Regions from separate parts of the Homo sapiens genome. Here regions 1 and 3 are each linked to region 2. The links are contacts of gene promoters, found by promoter capture Hi-C in blood cells and fetal thymus (Javierre and others, 2016). All regions are on one chromosome and are shown on one strand. The core of a region is centred on a gene start or on the middle of the fragment in contact, and the rest is flanking DNA. Distances in the headings are between cores, read along the strand shown.

Evidence for each region. Contacts are between HindIII fragments. The CHiCAGO score rates a contact against its expected background, and 5 or more counts as called.
Region 1: a fragment that was not itself captured here is called in contact with the fragment with the promoter of AFF4 in region 2 in 2 of 17 cell types (monocytes and fetal thymus); the score reaches 5.1 in monocytes.
Region 3: the fragment with the promoter of SLC22A5 here is called in contact with the fragment with the promoter of AFF4 in region 2 in 1 of 17 cell types (activated CD4 T cells); the score reaches 6.8 in activated CD4 T cells.

What each region holds. Positions count from the first base shown.
Region 1 is chr5:132,387,552-132,390,994 of GRCh38, reverse strand. SLC22A5 (solute carrier family 22 member 5) reads right to left here. Exons shown (of 10, transcript NM_003060.4): 6 at 1,974-2,074; 7 at 91-305. Among named protein-coding and RNA genes, the nearest start is that of MIR3936HG, 19 kb to the right of the region's middle. The HindIII fragment of the contact is 1,375 bases long and covers 563-1,937 here.
Region 2 is chr5:132,961,410-132,965,273 of GRCh38, reverse strand. It overlaps AFF4 (ALF transcription elongation factor 4), which reads left to right and starts at 1,640. Exons shown (of 21, transcript NM_014423.4): 1 at 1,640-2,015. AFF4-DT (AFF4 divergent transcript) reads right to left here and starts at 1,462. Exons shown (of 2, transcript NR_186175.1): 1 at 1,140-1,462; 2 at 584-1,033. RefSeq lists a silencer at 1,346-2,185. The HindIII fragment of the contact is 2,367 bases long and covers 689-3,055 here.
Region 3 is chr5:132,367,934-132,371,496 of GRCh38, reverse strand. SLC22A5 (solute carrier family 22 member 5) reads right to left here and starts at 1,787. Exons shown (of 10, transcript NM_003060.4): 1 at 1,132-1,787. The coding sequence starts at 1,524. MIR3936HG (MIR3936 host gene) reads left to right here and starts at 1,581. Exons shown (of 8, transcript NR_110997.1): 1 at 1,581-1,653. RefSeq lists a silencer at 1,585-1,904. The HindIII fragment of the contact is 8,292 bases long and covers 1-3,017 here.

The sequences.
Region 1 (3,443 bases), core at 1-2,500, 570 kb after region 2:
TGATTTTATTCTCTTTATTAATTGAGACAGCCTGGTAGACAGTAAGAGACTCAGTGAAGACCCCAAACCATAGATGCACATGGTCCCTACCTGGGGGTACCAGCTGCATGAAGAGAAGGACACTGCCACCCAGGAAGAGGGCAGTGGCCATGGAATAGCGCCGGGGCAAATATTGCAGCAGCAGCCAGGCCAACACATATGCTGGGACTTCAACCATCGCTGAAAGGAAGCAGTTCACAAAGATGTCCCCATGCAAGTTAGGAGTATCAAGCGAAAGCCCAAAATAGCCCACTGATATGGTCATCCTGAAACAGAGTGCAGAAGAAAGCTGGAAAAGCAGTATCCACATCTTTCCCAACCTGTACAACTTTTACAATGCAATTATTTCAGTAAATTCCAAACCATCTTTAAGCAGAGACTAGTAAGGCAGCAGTAACTGTAACCCTGCGTCTTACTTCATAGATCAAAAGATAATTTTCCCCAGCCCAAGTGGTACAGTGTAAACCCTGCGCCAGTGCGCTCTCAGAGCCTTCCATATAGACAGTGTCCCAGCAAAAAAGCTTGTATAATTCAGATAGATTTACTTCATTGAAAAGAAAAATTCCAACCTGCCTTTCAGCTTTAAAAATCCTAAGCTGAACCTCCTCAAATCCAGCAACTGCAGAAGGAGCTAGAGAATGAGTCAGGAGGCAGACATCAAGTGAGGTGTGATAGGATTTGGGGGATAAGATAACAAAAGGAACAACATTAGGTCAAACACTTGGAGAGAGACCCTCACACACTACCTGTGGTGACCAGTCAGGAAGAGGCTGGTCAGAGACAGCTGACACCAGCCCCGCGGTACTTGTGGAGCACAGAGGTGGCTCCCAATGGAGGGGCCACACTGCCTCTCATCAGGATGCCCTGCAGTACCCCTGACCTGGGCATCCCCAGTAGGCATTCTCTCTGTTGATGACCCACACTCTTTGACAAACCAGACCTTTATGGATTAGACTGTTTTGACTCATCTGCAGGTGGAACACACAGCTGGTACAATAAAAAGAGTATGTGCATGAGTCCCCAGGAAATCCAGAGCAGGGAGGAGAGCCTGGGTGAACACAAAAGTGGGTGACTCATCACAGGCTTGCATGTCTGTGGTGCAGGCTACATGCTGCTCCTGTCTTGAGGCCAACTCAGGGAATGGTGAACTGCCTGGAGGGATCCTGGGCCATTCCTTGGAAGCGGGTGACTCATAGCACTCCCTCAGTAGGCACAGTGGCTGACTGCCTCAAAGCTGGATGAGACTAGTAATAAGGACTCTGAGATGAAGTCCGCCCTCCTCGCCCATCTTCTCACCGCTAACCCACCAGGCTCCAGAAGTCGCCTAGAATCCCAGGGTTCGGCCGCTGAGCAAAAGCTAGCGATGTGCACTTGGACATGTTTCCTCTCCCTGGTAATTCACAAATCCCTTTCTGACATACTTTGCCTCATTAGTGGGAACCTGGTAAGGACATCTAGGCTATAGCCCTGACTCCAGGACCGTTTATGGACATCCCAGGAGGAGCACATCCCACTTCCACATTTCCAGAAAGTAACTGGCAGCCTCTGCAGCCTACAGGACATGGTGTCTTCACTCAGATCCTTCTTAAAAGCCCTACCTGGCCTCCTCAGCCACTGTCGGTAACTGGGTAGGAGACGGGAACTAAATGACCCAAATTGGGCAAGGATTCATCTTAAGATCTGGAGAGATTCCCCACAAGAGTCCATATTTCCCACAACAGCCTCCACAATTGTTTTCATTCTCCTTTTCTGAGGTTCCATCCCATTAAGAATTGTGACATGCCCATTTTTTCCATCTAACACAAGACATATCCTTTTCACTCTCTGATGACATAGGCTTTGAATTTTGTCTGAGGCATGTCTGTAAACAAGAGGCCCAATGGCCACTTCAAGAAGCTTTGTCTGGAAGCCTCAGGCAGGTCTCTTTTACATACCACAGCATTATGGACATGATGGTGACCATCCGGATATTCCAGGTTCGAAGCAGATCCAGAATGTTGTGGGACTGCTGCTTCTTGGAACTTAGGTCTTGTAACTGCAGGAACAACATCATAAGTGTATGGGAAGAAGAGGTGGTCAGAGACTCAGAGCACACAATAACATACTTGAATCCCTGGCATCTTAGCTGTCTGCATCTCAGCGTCGGGGAGTGTTACGTTTCTAAGAACAGTAAGTATACTGACTGTGTTTTAGGCTGTGAAAACTTCCCTAGGCCTTGTCAGTAACAAATCAGAGTGAATGAAAATGAGGAAAAGTAAGTGACCAGTCCCTCAAGGGTACAGGAAGACAGAGGCCCAGGCTGACAGCTTCCTCACTGCACCCCCACATATTCCTGTCGGTGGCCACATTCCAAGGAGGCCTCTAAGTATTCCTCCCGAAGCCTGGCTCCCTGCCCTCTGGGTCAGAGAGAGTACCTGGCTGTGTGGTTTATTGGTCTGATATTTTTTAAAAGTTAATGTTTTGAGTCCTTATACTATGTAGTTACTGGTGTGCTTCCAGGGAAAAAGAATTCAAATAGAAAAACAGGAAAATTGACCTGAGCTTCACCCAGAGTGACTTCCTATGAAATTCAGCACAGCCAAGGCCATTAATAAACCACACGTCTAAACACACTGATGTTGCTTTCTTAAGCAAACCCAGGTTTGGAGCTTGTTTTTCCAGAGTTAGAAGTTCAACAAAAGGTCAACTTTGGACTGAAAGTATCCCCTGAAATAGCCTCATTTCCTCAAAGATGCCAGTGGGGCTTATGCATTCACCCAGATTGACCCCTCACTTAAAAGCCCCCAAAACCACCTAACTTAAAAGCCCTCTGCCACACTCCTGCCTGACCTTTGCGCACAGGACCCCTTTCTGGTGCATGCTGACAGTGGCTGCTGGGCCACCACTCACTGGGAAGTCTGCAGGGCTGGCAGTGGCCATTGGCCTCCGCTGTCTACAATAACTGTTCCCTCTTTTCCAAGCCCAACCATGCCTGCCTCTCACACTTCAGCAGGGCTGCTTGTGGCTGTTCCCACACCCAACCCCTCATCTTCCAGTCAGACCACAGACACATTCCAGAACCCCACCAGGCAGCATTTACAGCTTCTAACCTCTCATAGTCACGAGACCAAGGAAAACTGCCTGCTACAGAGATGGTAGGAGAGGGAACGGGAAGGAAAAGCAAGAACCAGGAACTAGGTAGAGCCAAGAAATGAGTCATGGTGTGTGAGAACAGGGCTGACGGGAGGGGTGGGGTAGGGGGAAGAGGTGGACATCAAAAAGGACCTGACTCCAAGATGATATGCAATAATTAACCATTGGAGGGCAGAAAGAGACTAAACACTTTTTTTTTCTTTTTAATGAATAATTGCTAATACTCAAGAGATGAAATACTTCTAACTCCAAATCTATTTGTGCTTTACATT
Region 2 (3,864 bases), core at 391-2,890:
AGGGGATTGGTTAAATAAATTAGGATGTTTGCATAAGTGGAATATTATTCTGCCTCTAGGAAGAAAAAGGTAGTTCATTATATACTGATATGGCAGGATGTCCAAGACATTTTTTTCTTTTTTCTTTTTTTGAGACAGGGTCTCACTCTCATCCAGGCTGGATGGCAAGCTCCCGGCTCACTGCAGCACCGACCTCCTAGGCTCAAGTGATCCTCCCACCTCAGTCTCCAGAGTAGGTGGGACTATACGCATGCACCACCACGCCCGGCTAATTTTTGTATTTTTCATAGGGATGGGGTTTTGCCATGTTGCCGGGGTTGGTCTCAAACTCCTGGTCTCAAGCGATCAGCCCCCCTCGGCCTCCTAAAGTGTTGGGATCATAGGCCTGAGCCACTGTGCCCAGCCTATCCAAGATATTTGAAGTGAGAAAAAAAGGACTGAACAGCGTATATAGTGTGTTACCTTTTGTGTAAAAAGAAGTATCCCTATATTTTAATGTATTACTTACAAATATGTAGGGAAAGATACATTATTAAATGCTAAGTGATTGCCTTCCAGGACTGAAACAGCTAACAGACAGAGATGGGAGAATCAATTATTTTTTATTCTGTCATGTTTTGAGTTTTCTATTAAGACATTTCCTAATTTATATAGCTCTATAGAGAAAATGCATATAAAGAGTGAAGCTTAAAAGAAATAGTAGATGTTTAGAGGTGAAAGAAGTGTTCAGAATGATATGCTGAAGAAAAACATTAGTGGGCCGGGTGCGGTGGCTCACGCCTGTAATCCCAACACTTTGGGAGGCCCAGGCGGGTGGATTGGTTGAGGTCAGGAGTTCGAGACCAGCCTGGCCAACATGGTGAAACCGTGTCTCTATTAAAAATACAAAAATTAGCCGTAGGTGGTGGCTCCCCCCTTTAATCCCAGCTACTCCGGAGGCTGAGGTACTAGAATCGCTTGAACTCGGGAGGCGGAGGTTGCAGTGAGCCGAGATCCCGCCATTGTACTCCAGCCTGGGCGACAACAGCGAGATCTATCTCAATAAATAAATGAAAAGGAAAACATTAGTGGCAGAAGATGTTTAAATGACGAAGAAAGAGGGACGGTTTGGCTTCTTAGGGTAAGTTTACTGGAAATACCGAACAGCCTCCTGCGTCCTTTGCCTTTTTGCTGGACCTCTTGAGGACTCGAGGCTTCGACACCTGGAAGCAAGTCTAGGAAGCTCCGGGTTGGGCCGGATCCCCACCAGAGGCGAGGGGCGGAAGGCCTGGGTTTGTCACCTGAGCCCCAGAACCGGCATATCCGGTTCGGCCCGGCCCCGCCCTTCGGAACCTCACTAGCGGGCTACGCGCAGGAGGGCGTGAGCTCCCGGATGTGCAGGCCCTGTACTGCCGTGGCAGCCCTGCCGGACGCGGCCGCAGTGCCCAGAGGCTCAGGCCTATACCGCTCGGGCGGGTCCTTTGCCTGGCCCGGGTCATCAGACCCCACAGCCGGGAACGTCACCACCCCGGGCGTCGCCTCCCGGCCCAGCCGGCCCACAGACCCCCGCCCCCTACTCCCCCAGCGGGGAGGGGCGCAGAGGCATCACGTGACGCCCCGCACCCGCCCGGTCTTGGTCACATGGTGGCACGGCCGCTGCGTCAGTCACAGCCCTGGCTGCAGGAGTCCAGCTGCCGTCGCCGCCGCCAGCGGACGGGGCGGGGATCCTGGTGCCAGGTCTTCGTTAACCCGCCCCCGCCGCCTCAGTCAGCTGTCCCAGCCCGGGCCCGACCGTCATGGAGCGGTGCGGGGCCTACGCCTGTTCCGTGTGAGGCGCATCGCTGCCGCCGCCGCCGACGCCGCCTTCGTTTGTCGAGGCCTCCGGAACCCCCGCCGCCTCCCGGAGCCCCTCGCCCTTGGCAGCCTGTCACCGCCCCCTGGGCGGGCTCGAATGCGCGTCCGGTGAAGGTGCAGGCCCGGCGCCGCCACTGCCGCAGCCAGGAGATGGTTCGGGCCTAGCGGAGCCGGGACTGGAGGTAAGAAGGGCCGACAGACTGACCCAGGGCCGGGCCGGGCCGCGGGGGTTGTGGCCGGGGCCGGGTGGGGGTGGGGGCCCGCAAGTTCTGCGGGGAGCCTCGGGGAGACCCTCCGGGCTGGGGCTGCTCAATCAGGCGTCACCCCTCCTCTCATCTGCGCGTCCCACCCCACCACCTTCCCGCAAAGATAAGAAAATAAAAAAAGCTAACCCAATCCTAACAAAAATTCCCAGAAATCCATCCGTTTAGTGTTTCTCCTTTCCTCTTTCTTTCCTCAGACGTTCCATCGGCTGATTTGTTACTTTTTCATATCCTCCTCAATTTCAAATTATGTCTAATTAAAGAGAAAATAGGCCCAGATTCTGGCTAACATTACCCAGCTAGTTCTCGCTTTCCTTCTCGCGATCCTGCGCACCTCTCCCACACCCCCACCCCCGCAAAAAAAAAAAAAAAAGAAGGAAAAATTTCCGCCTTCGACTTGCGAAGGGGATTGACTAAAAATGGGAACGTGGGGGTATAATACTCGAATACCCTCCCCTACAACTTCTGAATCGGTCTGTTACCTAGTTATCCCAGTAGCTTGTGCGTGGATATTGATGTTTAGGCCTTTCCTCCAGCTGCCTGTGCTTGGGGTTAATCTCGTAATTGACGTCAGTGCTTTGTTCCTTCTACTTTGCTGTTCCTTCCACTCTTTGAGGATGGATCATGGAGTACAGGAGTTTTGGGAGTAACCTTATTGCCTTTTCGTTTACAAACAGTATTATTTTCAGGAAGTGGAAGTACGAATCTGAAATGTTTGTATATGGAGTTCAAGGCGAAGAGTTCGATTTAGGGTTCTCGTAGTTTTGTCAGTTGTAATTCAGAATTATGCGGTTTCTTCCCTGCTGGCCACATGGAAATTTTATACTAAGGCCAGTCACTTTTCCATTGACCAGTGTTTTTCTTGATGGAATCTAAGCTATAGGTGTCTGTGAATAGACTGTAAATGTAACATAAAATGTGTGCTGTTTTTCGGGCTCAGATATGAAAAGCGCAAAGCTTCGTTTCTGTATTGATTCTGCACTTCATAAAGTGCTTTTTAAAACTTAACTGGTCTTTAACTTATCAAAATTGAAATATTTATGAGAACTTTCTTAATTTGGGATTTGATAAAGAGCCTTTGTGGTCTGTGAGTCTGCCTAGAATCATCTTTGGTCATACGTGCATAAAGAAGTGTTGGCAAGTGGCCACTTGGTTTTCAACAAAGCTGGCTTCTTTAAATTTCTCAGATTCGTTTTCCTTATTATCACTGCATCTTTCAGCTCCTAAATATAAGAAAAATTCCCAGTAAGTTATTTTAAGTTATCTTTCAGAGTTAACTTACTAAAAACCTGGAAGCAGTCAAATTTTTCTTTTTTTATTACCAGCAGTTTCATTCAATTTGCGGTGGTTTGCAGGCTGGTACTTTGATTTTTGTTAACTCTCTAGAAACAGTAGGCAAATTTTACTTTAAATAAAATTTTGCTTCAAGTGGGGACAAGATGGGGTGTCTGAAAAAAGAGCCCAGCTGTGTTAATTGGAACATGATCTACAGTTTGGGAGTGTAAGGTGAAGCTGTGTAATTAAGAATTCTTAAAGATTGAATATTTTTGTTCTGAGTCACTTTCTACTTGTCAGATTCTCACATTCAGGTTGATACATTCTCTTCTGTGTACTCTTGAGTTATTGTACCCTTTTTGTAGCAATATATTCTGCAGCCGGGCCTGGTGGTTCACGCCTGTAATCCTAGCACTTTAGCACTTTGAGAGGCCGAGGTGGGCGGATCACCTGAGGTCAGGAGTTCTAGACCATCCTGGCCAACATAATGAAA
Region 3 (3,563 bases), core at 538-3,037, 590 kb after region 2:
CAGCTCCAACAACTGCTCCAACAGGTTCGGAGGGGACAGACAAAACCACCCAGAGGGAAAATCCAAGGGGATGAGAAATGAGAAAGGCTCCCCTACACCCTATGACCTAAGGCTGTATGCTTTAACTAAATCTGGCCGACAGCCTTGCCTCATAATACCTGAGAAAATATTCCAGGTCAACAAGTCACCCTGAACCCATCTTCAGATGAATGGATCTTAAAGAGTGACAACTGACGGCCTGGCGTGGTGGCTCACGGTTGTAATCCCAGCTTTGGAGGCAGAAGCAGGCAGATCACGAGGTCAAGAGATCGAGACCATCCTGGCCAACACGGTGAAACCCCGTCTCTACTAAAAACACAAAAATTAGCTGGGCGTCGTGGCTCACAGCTACTCGGAGACTGAGGCAGGAGAATCACTTGAGCCCGGAAGGCGAAGATTGCAGTGAGCCAAGAACGCACGACTGCGAAGGTTGCAGTGAGCCAAGAACACACGACTGCGCTCCAGCCTGGTGACAGAGGGAGACTCTGTCTCAAAAAAAAAAAAGACTGACAACTGACCATGGGAAAAGGCAAACAATTACTTACAGGGCATGACCAGATTGTCGTTTTTGGGTTGTGGACGGTAGGGGAAGGAGTAACTAGAGGAAAAAGGGAAGAGGCAGTTGTATACACATGCTTTATTTAACTTTTAAAAGTTCAGGAAAGAGAAGTATTTCTTCTCTTCTAAAAAGAAATCAAGAGACTAGAGGAAAAACGGGATAGCCCCTGGCCCAAGTCCTGGCTCTGCTACTTACCACCCCCAACCCCAACTAGAGTAAGTCCTGGACACACAGGGCCATAGAGCATCGCCCAGGGACCGCCAGGACCTTCCTGGTACCCTCTTCAAAGTGGCCATCAGGACGGGAGGCCAGACTGACCACCTGTGCAGGGAGGAGCACACTGTGGCTGGAGGTCACCTCGTGAAGCGTTCCCAAGCCACCTGGCTGGAGGGTCTCCATCGCTAGGGTGTTGACCGTTGGGGGAGGGGGAGTGACAGCGTCCAGTGCGCATCTGGGAGAGAGGAGCTCGGGTTCAAGGACCGCGACAGGTCCTCCGAGCCCTGGTCTCAGCCCCAGCAGGGGCCGGCACCCACCTCGGTCACAATGGTGGACAGGTAGACGTCCTGACTGAACTCCCAGCCATCCAGACAGCTCTCCTGCTCCAGCTGCCCCAGGTCCACGTCGCGCCCCGGCTCCAGCCCAAGCGCCGAGAAGTTGGCGATGGTGGCGAGCCGGTAGCGGCGGCAGCTGTGGGGCACCTCGCGGCCGTCCCGCAGCCGCAGTGGGACAGTGTGGTTGCGCCAGGCGCTGCTCAGGTTCGCGGCGTCCGGCACCCGGCAGCGGTGCTCCGGGGTCGCTATCAGGAACACGGAGGACAGGCCGGTGAAGCCATTGGGGATGATGCTGGCGCTGAGCAGGAAGAAGATGAGGCGCTGGAAGGGCCCCCACTCGCCCAGGAAGGCGGTCACCTCGTCGTAGTCCCGCATGCCGCCCTCAGAGGCCCACAGAGCGCGGCCTGGGGTCGGGGAACGCGGCGGGCTTTGCGCGTGCGCGCGGGGCACCCGCCGCCGACCAGGCAAGCCAGGCAGCAGGCGACCCAAGACCGTCCGCGGAGGGTAGGCTCGCGAGCTGACACCGCCGCCTTGGTCCTGCCGCGGCTGGCCTTACATAGGGCGCACGACCAGGGAAGGTTGCGGGCCTGGGCCGCAAGGCGCGCCCCGCTGGCAGGCAGAGCGGCGCCGGCGAAGGCGGAGCTGGGGCGGGACGCGAGGGCGCGGGGCGGGCCGGGAGTGCACCTGAGGCCCGGGCGGGGCCTGTCCTGGGGACCTGGCGAGGCCCGGCCTCTGCCAGCCAAGCCTGCTGGGGACGACCGAGGTAGCCCGGGCTCGGCTTAGGAAGGCAGCGGGACTCGAGGCCTTGGGGTCCGAGTCCGAACTCGCTCCTCTAGCGCCGGGCGGGGAGCGAGTGGGAGAGCGGCCGCGAAGCTCCAGTGTTGAAAACGCACCCCTCCCAGCTTTTTGCAAGGCCTACTTGGGGGCGGAGGTAAGGAGAAAGTCACTGGCCCAGGGTCTCACAGATAGTTGCTCTTGACACCGCCTAATCTTATAAGAGGGACGGGGATTATTTTGAACCTGGGACTGTTAACTACCCTAGTAGAGAGGCTGGGAGCTATGACTTTTCATTCTAGTCCAGATGCCCTTTCCACATTTTCGTCTGTAACAAGCCATTTTGTTCATGCAGATGTAAAAATTTAACTTCACGATTAACGATCCTAGCCTAGGGTTAAATATTCCCCACAGATTAGTTATTTCCGTGCAGAGTTTATTCAGAAGCTAACTGGAAAAAAAAAAAAAGCAGCGAGGTGATTCTAAAGCAGCAATGTTCCATAGGATAAGGAGCTACATTTGTTATGTTAACTTTTCTAGTAGCCATATTAATAAAATTGCCAGATTTAGCAAATAAAAATATAGGACTCCTAGTTAAATTTGAATTTCAGATATAGAATGAATAATTTTTAAATATTATGTCCCAAGCAGGAATATATAAAATAAAAATGTAACTGGTTGTCCTGTATTTTATTGGGCAATGCTGCATATTTAAAAAGTAAAAATAAAAGATGAAATTAACTTTAATGGTATATTTAATCAAGTATATCCAGAACATGATCATTTCATCATATAATCAATATAGAAATTATTGATATTTTACATTGTTATATGTAAATCATTGATCTTTTTTTCCCCTCCTCATACTAAATCTTAAGAATTCAGTGTGTTTCACAGGTTCTCAGGATTTGAAAAAAAAAAAAAAAGGAATCCAGTGTGTATTTTACAGCACATTTCAATTTGGACTAGCCACACTTTTTATTTTTTAATATTTATTTATTCATTTATTTATTGGAGACACGGTCCCACTGTGTCACCCAGGCTAGAGTGCAGTGGCACAATCATAGCTCACCGCAGCCCTGAACTCCTAAGCTTAAGTGGGCCTCCTGCCTCAGCCTGCTGAGTAGCTAGGACTACAGGCACATGCCACCGTGCCCAGCTAATTTTTTTATTTTTTTTATTTTACAGAGACAAGGCATCCCTGTGTTGCCCAGGCTGGTCTCAGACTCCTGGGTTTAAGCAATCCTCCCACCTCAGCCTCCCAAAATGCTGAATTACAGACGTGAGCCACTATGCCTGGCCAGACTCATTTTTTAAGTGCTCAGTAGCCACATGTAGCTATTGGTTATCTTATTGGACAGCACCATTCCTAAGGCCTTTAAGAATTTGGGCTGCTAAACTTAACAATGCAAGATATTCCTTTTTAAAATAGTAGTGGCTTAGTGATAGAAACAGAACTAAGTGTATATTTTTACAATATAATGTGTTGAGTAAAGAATATTTAATAGTCACTATATTATGAGTTGAAAATAAAGCTACAGAAAGGGAACCTAACCTGGCCAGCAGATTTTTAACAAGGAAATCTAAACATTTGCATAAAGCATAATAGACTTAAAAAAATTATGATAAAGATGTTATCA